Linked DNA regions of Homo sapiens: region 1 is linked to region 2. The links are contacts of gene promoters, found by promoter capture Hi-C in blood cells and fetal thymus (Javierre and others, 2016). All regions are on one chromosome and are shown on one strand. Each heading gives the region's core, a stretch centred on a gene start or on the middle of the fragment in contact. The rest is flanking DNA. Distances are from core to core; before and after follow the strand shown. Region 1 overlaps ZMYM6 (zinc finger MYM-type containing 6). Region 2 holds the start of SMIM12 (small integral membrane protein 12).

What was found. The method cuts DNA at HindIII sites, captures the fragments that hold promoters and counts their contacts. A CHiCAGO score of 5 or more calls a contact.
Region 1: a contact is called between a fragment that was not itself captured here and the fragment with the promoter of SMIM12 in region 2, in 1 of 17 cell types (activated CD4 T cells). The highest score is 5.5, in activated CD4 T cells.

What each region holds. Positions count from the first base shown.
Region 1 is chr1:34,987,542-34,994,622 of GRCh38, reverse strand. It overlaps ZMYM6 (zinc finger MYM-type containing 6), which reads left to right. Exons shown (of 16, transcript NM_007167.4): 15 at 2,236-2,389; 16 at 5,688-7,081. Among named protein-coding and RNA genes, the nearest start is that of TMEM35B, 5.7 kb to the right of the region's middle. The HindIII fragment of the contact is 2,303 bases long and covers 3,192-5,494 here.
Region 2 is chr1:34,857,992-34,864,829 of GRCh38, reverse strand. SMIM12 (small integral membrane protein 12) reads left to right here and starts at 5,081. Exons shown (of 2, transcript NM_138428.6): 1 at 5,081-5,153. RefSeq lists a silencer at 5,130-5,259. The HindIII fragment of the contact is 6,874 bases long and covers 4,401-6,838 here.

The DNA.
Region 1 (7,081 bases), core at 3,094-5,593, 130 kb before region 2:
TGGCTTCCCATCACATTTAAAATACAATCCTAATTTTGTTTTTGACTGAGACCTTCCAGATCCTATACAATTTAGTTTCTGCCTACCTCTCCAAATGTATCATTCTCCCCTTGCTTACTGTCTTTCAGCCTTGTTCTTGTTGATGTTCCTAAAGCATGCCAAGCTTTCTCCCACTTCAGGGTTTTTGCACCTATAGTCTGCCTGCCTGGACTCTTCAGACCTTAGACCTTTGCATGGCTTACTCTTTTGAATAATTCAAAAGGTCTCTGCTCAGATGTTTACTTCAGAATTGCCCCTCCTCCATGCCATCACTCTCCATTCCTGTACGCTGCTTTATTTTCTTCATCGCACTTATCACTACCTAGAATTATATATTATTTGTTTTACTTGTTTATTTTTTGTGTCTTCCTCTAGAATGTAAGGCTCATATGAGCAGAACTTTGTCTTGTTTTCTGCGGTATCTCCACGGCTTAGAACAGTGCCTGGCTTGTAGTAAACATTCAGGAAATAAATATTGAGTGAATACACATGTTTTAAGTACATTCCTCCACTCTGTTGTTTGCCCTATAACTTTGTTTTATAAAGACCTTTGTTTACAGAAGTTTTTTTTTTTTTTGGATTAAAAAACTTTACTTTTTGGCCGGGCACGGTGGCTTACGCCTGTAGTCCCAGCACTTTGGGAGGCCAAGGTGGGTGGATCACGAGGTCAGGAGATTGAGACCATCCTGGCTAACACGGTGAAATCCCATCTCTACTAAAAATGCAAAAAAAATTAGCCGGGCGTGGTGGCGGGTGCTTGTAGTCCCAGCTACTCAGGAGGCTGAGGCAGGAGAATGGCATGAATCCAGGAGGCAGAGGTTGCAGTGAGCTGAGATCATGCCACTGCATTCCAGCCTGGGTGACAGAGCGAGACTCCGTCTCAAAAAAAAAAAAATTAATTTACTTTTTAAGAGCTTTATTATGATAGGCAGAATAGTAGCCCCCCAAAGATGTCCATGTCCTTGTCCACAGAATCTGTGAATATGTTACATTACATGGCAAAGGTGAATTAAGGTAGCAAGTGGCATTAGGGTTCCTAATCAGCTAACCTTAAAATAGGGAGATTATCCTGGATCATCTGAGCAGTTTTAAATTTTGAGGTAGTCAAATGTATCAGTCTTTTCTACTTTGATTTACTCTTTTGTGTTTTATTTAAGAATACTTTGTGATCCCAGCTGGGAGTGGTGGCTCACGCCTGTAATCCCAGCACTTTGGGAGGCCGAGGTGGGCGGATCACGAGGTCAGGAGTTTGAGACCAGCCTGGCCAACATGGTGAAACACCATCTCTACTAAAAATATAAAAAATTAGCCAGGCGTGGTGGCGCACGCCTGTGGTCCCAGCTACTCAGGAGGCTGAGGCACAAGAACTGCTTGAACCTGGGAGGCGAAGGTTGCAGTGAGCTGAGATTGTGTCACTGTACTCCAGCCTGAGTGACAGAGTGAGACTCCGTCTCAAAAAAAAAAAAAAGAAAAAAGAAAAGAATACTTTGTGATCTGTTTATTTGAAAGTTCTCTAGTGACTTTAGTTCTTTTTTTTTCCCTGAGATCTTTAATTGATGTGGAATATATTTTTGTGTATGGTCTGAGGTTGGATCTAATTTTTCTGAGTAGCCAGTTGTCCTAATCAGCAAGATTAACAATTGTTTTCATTGTTTTGATCATACTTATTTTAAAAATATATATTATATGTATAATTTTTATATTTATAGTTTATAAATATATTTTTATATTTATAGTTTATAAGTATATTTTTATATTTATAGTTTATAAGTATATTTTTATATTTATAGTTTATAAGTATATTTTTATATTTATAGTTTATAAGTATATTTTTATATTTATAGTTTATAAGTATATTTTTATTTTTATAGTTTATAAGTATATTTTTATTTTTATATTTACAAATATATTTTTATATTTATAGTTTATAAATATATTTTTATATTTATAGTTTATAAATATATTTTTATATTTATATTTATAAATGTTTTTTAAAATCAGTAAATTAAACTAATACTGATTGGGAGAAGTAGGAATCTGTGTGTATTTTCCAAGGTGACTTTTTTATTGCAACCACTCTTTCAGAGGAATTATATTTCTCTTGATGTATATGAACTTTCAATTGATAGCAATTATAGTCAGTGATAAGGTACTAAAAAAAATCTTTCTTTGGTTTCTGAATTTGCTTTTAACTAGGAAAGTACACAGGAAGATGCTATGAAATTTCCATCTTCCCAATCTTCCCAGCCTTCCAGGCTTTTAAAGAACAAAGGCATATCATGCAAACCCGTCACACAGACCAAGGCCACTTCTTGCAAACCACATACACAGCACAAAGAATGTCAGACAGGTATGTATCCTTGTGCGTTCCCATGTACAAAGCTTGTTTTCTGGCTTGTTTGTTTTTGTTTTTTAAGAAAGGAAAAGAAAATAATTGACAGAGTCTTAAATGTGAAAACATTCCTTTTCTTGGATCACATGCTTTGAATACTTAATTTATTGCTTTCATAATTATTAACACTAATAACCAGCTATCATAACAAGCTATTATAATTACTAACATACAGTTTTAGTTAAAAGCATTAGTGATTTAACCTGTTTTTTTTTTTAAATACTGCGAATTCAGTTGTCAGTTGCTAACAGTACAATTAATTTATCTGAGGTATTGGTGACGATGAAAATTGTTTGAGCTTTACTTGAAAAAGTTGTGAAGTATTACTTTTAATCCCACTACCCTTAGATTTTCAATTGCTTTAATAGTCTACTGTGCCTAAAGCACTGGGTTTTTTTTTGTTTGTTTGTTTGTTTTTTTTGAGATGGAGTTTCACTCTTGTTGCCCAGGCTGGAGTGCAATAGCGTGATCTTGGCTCCCTATAACCTCTGCCTCCTGGGTTCAAGCGATTCTCCTGTCTCAGCCTCCTGAGCAGCTGGGATTACAGGTGCCTGCCACCATGCCCGGCTAATTTTTGTATTTTTAGTAGAGACGGGGTTTCATCACTTTGACCAGGCTGGTTTTGAACTCCTGACCTCAGGTGATCTGCCTGCCTCGGCCTCCCAAAGTGCTGGGATTACAGGCATGAGCCACCGCCCCTGGCCTGATTTTTGTTTTTAATAATAATTTTACTTCATAGAATACACTATATTTAAAAGCTTAGTCTGTCAACAAGTAGTAAGTTTTTATGTAGGGTACCTTTATTTTGGTAGAAGTCAAGCAGAATCCTGTTTTCCTTCCTCAGGAAATTTATTTTATATTCCTATTAAAACAATATATTATTTGTACCTGAATTTATATTATATACACGTTCACACATGGAGAGTACTAAAGGATCTGTGGGCATCTATATGTGTGTATGTGTGTGTGTATGTTTGTGTGTGTGTGTGTGCTTATGTTTTGAGTTCTAGATTAAATATTGAATTGTTGGTCAGACGTGGTGGCTCATGCCTATAATCCCAGCACTTTGGCAAGCCAACATGGGCGGATCACCTGAGGTCAGGAGTTTGAGACCAGCCTGACCAACATGGTGAAACCCCATCTCTACTAAAAATACAAAATTAGCTGGGCATGGTGGCACAGGACTGTAATCCCAGCCACTCAGGAGGCTGAGGAAGGAGAATCGCTTGAACCTGGGAGGTAGAGGTTGCGGTGAGCTGAGATCGCGCCATTGTGCTCCAACCTGGGCAACAAGAGTGAAACTCCGTCTCTTTTAAAAGAATAAATCTCGAATGTTTTCTAACAATCGAAATTACTTTTTCATTTGACATTGCATTGGAAACATTATTCCACAACAATATAAATTTAAATATACATTGAGATTATTTTTTTCCAATTTTTATTTTATTATGTTTATTTTATTTTATTCGGGGGTACATGTGCAGATTTGTTACCTGGGTATGAGATTCTTAACATAGATTTCAGTGTATATAATATAACCAACTCCGTTAAGATTGGAAATTTAGATATTTGTATTATAAGCAATGTTGGGTTAAGCTATGTTAATGGATCTTTGTCCACTTGCCTAATTATGTCCTTAGGATAAATCCTAATCAGTGGAAGTGTTGATTCAAAGACTATCATCTTTTTTTTTGTTTGTTTTTGTTTTTGAGACAGAGTCTATCTCTGTCACCCAGGCTAGAGTGTAGTGGCGCGATCTCGGCTCACTGCAACCTCCACCTGCCAGGTTCAAGCGATTCTCCTACCTCAGCCTCCTGAGTAGCTGGGATTACAGGCACCTGCCACCATGCCCAGCTAATTTTCTTTTGTATTTTTAGTAGAGACGGGATTTCACAGTGTTGGCAACGCTGGTCTCAAACTCGTGACCTCATGATGTGCCCGCCTCAGCCTCCCAAAGTGCTGGGATTACAAGCGTGAGCCACCGCGCCGGCCTATCATCTATTCTTAAGTATTTTGATACCTGTTGCCTAAATTGCCCTCCTGAAAAGTTACATCAATGTATGCTCCAACCAGCAGTGTTCAGGAGGATCCATTTCTCTACAACCTCACTGACACTGAGTATCAAAATTCAGAAAGGTTGAATATACAGTACAGTCAATACTAGTATACTCTTCATCCAGATTAATGAAATGTTAACTTTTTGCAATATTTATTTTCTTTTTTTTTCTGGATTGTTTGAAAGTAAAACATTATTTTTCTGTCTCTTTTTCTTCCTTTTCTTTCTTTTTTTTGAGATGGAGTTTCACTCTTGTCTCCCAGGCCGGAGTGCAATGACATGATCTCGGCACATTGCAACCTCCGCCTCCCGGGTTCAAGCGATTCTCCTGCCTCAGCCTCTCAAGTAGCTGAGATTATAGGCATGTACCACCATGCCTGGCTAATTTTGTGTTTTTAGTAGAGACGGGGTTTCACCACGTTGGCCTGGCTGGTCTCGAACTCCTGACCTCAGGTGATCTGCCCGCCTTGGCCTCCCAAAGTGCTGGGATTACAGGTGTGAGCCCCATGCCTGGCCTTTTTTTTCTTTTTCTTTAAAAAAATTTTTTGACACCAGTGTCACTCACCAATAAAAAATTTATTCTTTTTGTTTTTTTTTGAGACGTAGTCTCAAGAGTGCAGTGGTGTGATCATGGCTCTCTGCAGGCTCAACCTCCTGGGCTCAGGCAATCCTCTTGCTTTAGCTACCCAAGTAGCTGGGACTATAGGTGTGTGCCATTGCATCCAGCCAATTTTTTTTCTTCTTCTTTTTTTTTTTTTAATGTAGAGATGGAGTTTCGCCATGTTGCCCGGGCTGGTCTCTAACTCCAGGGCTCAAGTGACCCACCCACCTTGGTGTCCCAAAGCACTGGGATTATAGGTGTGAGCCACCCTGCTCAGCCAAAAAGTTTATTGTTAATTTGATGTGTATCATGGTCTTCAGCCCTAATTTCAATAACCTATTGGGTGCTTGGGATTACTTGTACATGTACCACATCCTACAGTTTTATTATACCTAGTGATCAAGCTTTGGGCAAAGGAGAAATTCAGTTTTCAGTAGCATCATTGGAAGTATTATGACTTGTGCTTAAACTTTTACCAGTGCATTCTTTTGATAAATAGAAATAGTAACAAAATATGAATTTTAAATATGTGGGGAGATACATAAAGAACATTGCTTATTTGTTCTTGAAAATAACAGTGATTCAAATATTTCATTCAGATTTACCTATGCCTAATGAAAAAAATGATGCAGAACTTGATTCTCCACCTTCAAAGAAAAAAAGATTAGGTTTTTTCCAGACTTATGATACAGAATATTTAAAAGTTGGTTTTATTATCTGTCCTGGATCAAAAGAAAGTTCACCAAGGCCACAGTGTGTCATTTGTGGAGAGATCTTATCCAGTGAAAACATGAAGCCAGCAAATCTTTCTCATCATTTGAAGACAAAACATTCAGAATTAGAAAACAAACCAGTAGATTTTTTTGAACAAAAATCTTTAGAAATGGAATGTCAAAATAGTTCTTTAAAAAAGTGTTTACTAGTTGAAAAGTCACTTGTGAAAGCTTCTTATTTAATTGCTTTCCAAACTGCTGCAAGCAAGAAGCCATTCTCCATTGCTGAAGAATTAATTAAACCATATTTAGTAGAAATGTGTTCAGAAGTTTTGGGTTCAAGTGCTGGAGACAAAATGAAAACTATTCCACTTTCTAATGTTACAATTCAACACAGGATTGATGAACTATCTGCAGACATTGAAGACCAGCTGATTCAAAAGGTCAGAGAGTCAAAGTGGTTTGCCCTTCAGATAGATGAGTCATCAGAAATCTCAAATATCACACTTCTTTTGTGCTATATTCGTTTCATTGATTATGATTGTCGTGATGTAAAAGAAGAATTATTATTTTGCATTGAAATGCCTACTCAAATAACTGGCTTTGAAATATTTGAACTAATAAATAAATATATTGATAGTAAATCTCTGAATTGGAAACATTGTGTTGGTCTCTGTACCGATGGGGCTGCAAGCATGACTGGCAGGTATTCTGGTTTAAAAGCAAAAATTCAAGAAGTTGCCATGAATACAGCGGCATTTACACATTGTTTTATTCACCGTGAACGTTTAGTGGCAGAAAAGTTGTCTCCATGTTTACATAAAATTCTTTTGCAGTCAGCACAAATTTTAAGTTTTATAAAGAGCAATGCATTAAATTCACGTATGTTAACAATTTTGTGTGAAGAGATGGGATCTGAGCATGTGAGTTTACCGCTTCATGCTGAAGTACGTTGGATATCAAGAGGGAGAATGTTAAAAAGATTATTTGAATTACGACATGAGATTGAAATATTTTTAAGTCAAAAGCATTCAGATTTGGCCAAGTATTTTCATGATGAGGAATGGGTTGGAAAGCTGGCCTACTTATCAGATATATTTTCACTTATAAATGAATTAAATTTAAGTCTCCAAGGAACTTTGACTACTTTCTTCAATTTGTGTAATAAAATTGATGTATTTAAGAGAAAGTTAAAAATGTGGTTGAAGCGCACACAAGAGAATGATTATGACATGTTCCCTTCATTTTCTGAATTCTCAAATTCATCAGGCTTAAATATG
Region 2 (6,838 bases), core at 3,832-6,331:
TGGGTCAGGCAAGGGGTGAGTGCTTTACATGAATGTGGCTGGTCCTTACAATAGAAGAGAAAGCCAAAGCTCAGGGCAGGTTACAAGACCTGTCTGAGGTCACAGGACTAAATGTGGTGGACCCAGGTCTAATGCCAAATCATGAGCTTTTAGCTTTGCAGGCTTCTTAGACCAGAGAGGGCTGATGGCAGTCTCCACCCAGAAAGCCCCTTTCCACTCCTTGAGCAGTCCTTTGGGTTGGTGTGTCACCTCCAGGCAGGAGGAAAAGCCTTCAGGATTGGCTGCTTTTCTGGGCCACACTGGGTCAGCTAATTCTTCTCATTCATTTATCCAGCAGACATTTATCACTTTTGGGCGCCACAGGAATAGCCCTGAACAAGATGTAGTTTCTACCCTTAATGGAACTTATGGTCATATGGGAAAAACAGACAAATAAGCAAGCAGTTAAAATACAGGAGTAAGTGCCAGAAAGATGATTAGAGATTAGCTGCTGAAGGAGGGCCAGGGCTGGGAAGAATGTTCCAAGATCAGGGAACAGCTGTGCAAAGGCTTGGAAGAGGAAGAGACATTGGGAGCACAGAGACTTGATTATATCAGTGTTTGGGTCTCATTGAGGCAGGTGGCCTGGGTCTTGTGGGCTGTAGGGAGCCATAGAAGGGTTTTGAACAGAGGAGTGGCATGAACGTTTTATAGACTGGTTTGGTAGACAACTTTGGAAAAGCAAGAGATGGTCCACGTACACACATGAGCCTGGAAGGTGAGGAGAACTCTAATGTGATCTGAATTCCCAAAAGCAGTCCGTTTGGAGGTGATCCCATACAGACTCCTGGGCCTGGTCCAAGACTTAGTGAATAGACTCTGCCCTCGAATAAGGTTTTAACAAGTGCTTCACAAGATTCTGAGCAGCCAGCTTTGGGAAGACTTAAATTGGATGACTGTCCAAAGGTCTCCAGTAGAAGGGCTGGGTCAGTTTACCTCTCTGAGGTTGTTTTATCATCTCTAAAATTGGGGGCATGGGTGAGGTTTGAACTCAGAGCAATGCTGTAAAACAGATATTGTTTTCACCCCCATTTACAGATGAGGAAATGGGCTTGGAGAGGTTTAAACAGCTTACCTCAAACCATGAAGCCAGGAAGTGGCTGAGTCTGAGTTTAACCTTTACATTTATACAGCATTTTATGGGTCTATGACTTTATTCATAGAGTTTTCCATGTCTGGTGTGGATGAGTCTCCTTTGGTTCTTGTGGCCTAGGTAGTTATGCTGAGCCCCATAGATAGTGAAAGATTAGGTCCAGTCCTTTTGCTTGAGTTGCTTACAGTCTGGCCATGGCCAGCATATAAACAGAAAGTTATGGTGCAAAGGGAAACCTGTTCTCCCAGAGGGGCCAAGGGATTGAGAGGAGAGAGCCTCTAGCAACCAGGGTGTTTTAGTCCATTTTGTGCTGCTATAACAATACCACAGACTGGATAACTTATAATGAACAGGTATTTATTGGCTCACAGTTCTGGGTGCTGGGGAATTCAGTGTCAAGGGGCTGGCAACTTGTGAGGGCCTTCTTGCTGTGTCATCCCATGGCAGGTGAGAGGGCAAGAGAGGGCAAGAGGGAGTTGAACTTGCCCTTTTATAAGGGTGTCAATCCACCCATGAGAGTGCAGCCCTCATGGCCTAATAACCTCTTAAAGGTCCCACCTCTTAATACAATGACAAATTTCAGTGTAAGTTTTGGAGGGTACAACCATAGCACAGGCAGTCTGGGAAAGCCTTCTGCCTTGTGAGTTGGATCTTGCAGGATGAATTAGCATTTTGTAGTCAAGGAAGAGAAGGGAGAAATTCATTTCTGGCCAAGGGACCAACCTGGGCAAAGCCATGGAAGCACATGTGTGTTGGGAATGAAAGCATAGGCTGGAGAGGGTGACAGGTTATGGTGGCTGTGGAGGGCGTGGAGGAGATACGGCCAGAAGGGACCCATAGAGTTGGGGGTGGGAGGCTAAGATGGAAACCTCATAGTTTTATTTGAAAGATGAAACTACGGCCAAAAGAAAGGAAATGGACTGGATGGGGCAACAAGACAGCAGGGAGACCATTCAGGGAGCTGCTAAAGTGGTCCAGGTAAGAGATAATGATGTTGACTTTGAGAGACATTTAGGAGGCATAAGTGCAGTAAGCTGGATCTGGAGAATAATGTAAAGATGGGACGCCTTGAAGGTGTCACTCAGATTTCTGGCTTAATGAATGAGTAATGCCACGAATGGACATAGGACATTACAGAAGGAGCAATACAGTTGGGAAATACTTAACATGTCAATAACCATTTACTGAGCACTGAGAAGGTGCAAACTACTATGCCAAGCACTTTATACACATTTAGGTGATTTAATACTCATAGCAACCCTAGGAGTGGGTACTATTATTGTCTTTTTTTAAAAACAAAGAGTGTAAATAGCTTTTCTGAGATAAGCAGACAAGAGTCAGGATTTGAACCCATGGCTATCTGATTTCTCAGTCTATGCTCCTGAGCCCCTCAGCAATTCTGCTTGAGGGAACTGCTAGCCATGACTCAAGACTCAGCTCAAGGCTTGGTTCCTCTAGGGAGCCTTCCCTGAATCTTCCTGGCTGGGCTGAAGATCCTCCTCTGTGCTGCGTGTGTATACTTCTGTCATCACATTTCTTACATTCTATTGACATTTTGTAGACCCATCTGTTTCTTTAGTCAGAGAACTCTGGAGGCAGGTTGGTCCCAGTCATTTTTGCATCCCCATTGCCTAGCACATGATTGGCTGACCAAATGCCAGTTACTCTGGACAGTTCTGTTCCCTTCTCCTCTCCACATATTCAGTTAGTGAGCAGGTTCTGCTAACAACGGTCTCCTAAATATTTATTTGTACTGTTGGGGCTCAGAAAGCGATACCCCAAAGACTGGCGCTTTGACATGCTGAGAGGCCTTCGAAGCTGCCTCAGAATCAAGGTCCCTCTAACCTTCTCTCCCAAGTATAGGGAGGCACTCTCTCTAGAATTTCCTAATCTGATCGAGAAAACGTCTTTCCAAAAGAAACAAAATTGCCTTCCTCCCCTCTCCGAAATCTCATCTAGCTCAGAAAAGAAGACTGAGGAAGGCAACTACGCCTGGATGGATTTTTCACAAGATGATGCCTGTTTCTCGGGCTCATTCAAATTCTAAAGAGAATCATTTACAAGTTAATTTCTGTCCATTTTTTCGCCCTAAGAATCACTTGCTGCCCTCAGAAGAATTGTCTATATTCTCCATCTCTCCCCTTCCCCTATGAAAAAGAGTGTATACGCTTCTGTACCCCATTGGGTTATTGGGTAATCATTCTCCTGTGACCCTTCCCTTCCCACCCCCTCGCCTCCCCGCCCCGTGCTATGCACGTTAAAATAAAATTTTGTATGTCTTTTCTCCTATTAATCTGCCTTTTGTCAGTTGATTTTCAGTGAACCTTGGCCCCTACAATACTGTTCCCTTTTCTCCATCTTCACTGCCAGAGCTTAGCTTTGAGCTGTTTGAGATAATAGAGGAAGGGTGTCTAATGTGATAAGCAGTCTATGTATGAGGCTTCCTCTGGAGGTGACCCTTAAGCTTGAAAATTGTGCCAGAGCACAATCTGGCATAGTAAAGAAAGGTGGGAAGGGCACTACATGGCCAGGCACGGTGGCTCATGCCTGTAATCCCAGCACTTTGGGAGGCTGAGGCGGGCGGATTGCTTGAGCTCAGGAGTTCGAGACCAGCCCTAGCAACATGGTGAAACCCAGTCTCTACAAAAAGTACAAAAATTAGCCAGGCCTGGTGGTGTGCATCTGTGGTCCCAGCTACTCGGAAGGCTGAAGTGGGAGGATCACTTGAGCCCAGGAGGTTGAGGCTGCAGTGAGCTATGATTGTGCCACTGCACTCTAGCCTGGGCAACAGAGCGAGAGTCCTGTTAAAAAAAAAAAAAAAAGCGGCCAGGCGCAGTGGCTCACGCCTGTAATCCCAGCACTTTGGGAGGCCGATGCGGGCAGATCACCTGAGGTCGGGAGTTCGAGACCAGCTTCCCCAACATGGAGAAACCCCTTCTCTATTAAAAATACAAAATTAGCCGGGCGTGGTGGTGCATGCCTGTGATCCCAGCTACTCAGGAGGCTGAGGCAGGGGAATCACTTGAACCTGGGAGGCGGAGGTTGCGGTGAGCCGAGATCACGCCATTGCACTCCAGCCCAGGCAACAAGAGTGAAATTGAACAACAACAACAAAAAAGGTGGGAAGGTAGATGAAAAAGCATCAATAAGGCACTGAGGTGTGAAACAGTGTGGTCTGCCGGGTTTAGTATGTGCGAGCAAAATAAATATGCAGGCTGAGATTAGTGGGATGAGGGTGGGAAGGGCCTTGTGGGAGCATTAACAAGCTTGAGCTTTGGGACTTTTCTGTATATGATAAAATTGATGTCTGTATAGGGTACAGTGGGGACACAGAGGAGGAAGTGAATACTTGTACCCAAGAGGTCATGTAAGACTTAGGTTTTACTATATTTGAATTATTTTTACACTAACAATAGCCACATTTATTTCCCTGCTGGCTGTGTGCCTGCCACAGTACTTTACAAATATTATCTCTTCCAACCCTCACACCATCCTTGCGAAATGGGTGTTATTACCTCTACACAGAAGGGGAAGGGAGGCTCAGACAGGTTAATAATGTTCCCAAGGTCACTAGAAAGCTAGCCCGGATCCCAAGAGGTCTTAAAGCACTAAAATATACTCTTCTAAGAAGAGCTTCTTGAGGTCAGGGATCATGTCTTTTGTTTTTGCGTGCCCAGACCTAGGTCTTAGAAGACGCCTAATAAACATCAGTTGAAAAAAATGACTGGATGATCTTTCACTTTTTCCACGCAGAAAACACGTGGCGACATCACTGAGAAACCTCCCGGCCAACAGAGGGCGCGACGTCCATTTCAGCGCAGTGGGGCCCAGTTGCGGACGCCTAGCTTCCTTCCGTCCTTTGGCTGAAGTTCAGCCAATCCCTGCGCTCCGAGAGAGCCGGCGGCCAGTGGGCAGGGTCACAGGGCAAGGTCCCGCGGGCCGCTGGGTGCGGCGACTTCCGTGCTCCCGGCGAGCGGGCGGAGAGCGGGGGCCGCACTGGGGAGTGTGGGCTGGGCCGCAGGTGAGCGCGCGGTCCCGGCGAGCAGGTCGGGTCAGCCCAGGCCAGTAACCTCTGAGTTACGGGAGGAGTGATCGCTAGGGTCCACCCCGGTCCCGGCCAGATCTGCCAGCTCCCCTCTCTGGCGGGTGTTCTGGTGCCAAGTCTGGGAGCCCAGGTAGCCCTCCGCAGACAGGGCTTCTCGGCACCTCAATGAGGACGGACGTTGATGAGGCCATGAATGAGGTGGGCTAGGGACAGGGGACCGGGAGACTCACAGAAGGGAGAAGGGTAGCCATTTGGATGGACCTTCGCCTTACTTGCGCTCCCATTCCTGGACTGCGCTCTAGTGACTGTCAGGGCTAATTCTTCCGCCTTCTCAGGCCTCCTGTGTCCTTGTTAGTAGTTCTTGAATTTGGGACTACGGCTTCTGGCCTCGTTGGGCCTCCGGGCCCTCGCACTGGGGCAGGTTTCCCAGCAGCCCAGTTGACCTTTACCGGATGCTTTTGGCAGACGTCCTCCATGCCGGGCTGGAAATATGCGTCACAGTGTTTTTCAGACACTTTTGCCTCTTTCATTGTGATACCCTGCCTGGGGACGACTATGATGGAGTCTTTAGGTTTTTGTAATCAGCAAAGGCATCTGTTATGCTCCTGCCACCTTTTGGGGGAGAGTGGGTGGAGGATGTTGTGATTTTACACTAGGGAGTTTGGGCTGTCATTCATTCGTTCAGCAGACCTTTTTTGGGCACTCTGCCAGGCAGGGTAGGAGAGGTGCCTGGATGGATAGGGCATAATTGGGCCAGACAGACACGGTTCTTAGCCTTTTGGAGCTTAAAGTGTCTTGAGAAACGCAGACAGGGTAAGCCAGCATCGTGCCTGACACAGAGTAAGTGGTTATAAGTGTCGAATAAAGGAATGAATTGACTTATTTGGGAATGATTAGAATGTGAGCAGGACGGTAGCGAGAGACTTTATGCTGCATGTGAGAGATAGTTGTGAACTCATGCGCGATATGTTTTAAGACAGGTTTGGAAATCTGAACGGACAGTTGCTATTTAGGGAAGCATTTACTTATACAGAGGACTTGCTTTAAAGGTGGAAGTAAAATGGAGAAGTATTAGGTTTGGGATTCTTCAGAGGTGCCTCTTTTAACTATTACTATGTCTCTGAATTTCATAAATCCCTGAGTACAATCTCAGAGTTTGGGAAAAGGAAAGCTCTTCTAGGTAATGAAATGCCAGGCTGATGGGAAAAAACTGTAGGAAGCTCTCCCTAAGTCCAGGGTTTGGACAGAAACCGTATACCTCTGCAGTGTGTTCTTCCCACTAGAAAGAGTGTAGGCTTTGAAATTGGAGAGGCCTGGGTTCAAAATCAGTGGCTCTATCACTTCTAGTGATCTTGGATAAGTTAACATAATGTCTGTGAGCCTTTGTGGCCTTCACAAGAGTCTGGGCTAATAATTCCTACATCATAGAGGTGTTATGAGGATCAAATGATGATTAGTGTGTAAATTGTCATCATAGTGCCTGGTGCTGAGACAATAAGCGGGGGAGTCTTGGAGATGCTGCAATTTTTTTTTTTTTTTTAAATTTCATGATGCTGCCTTATTGCAGGGGTCCTTAACCCCCTGGGCCACAGACCAGTGGTGGTCTTCAGCCCATTAGAAACTGGGCTGCACAGCAGGAGGTGAGCGGTGGGCAAGCTGGC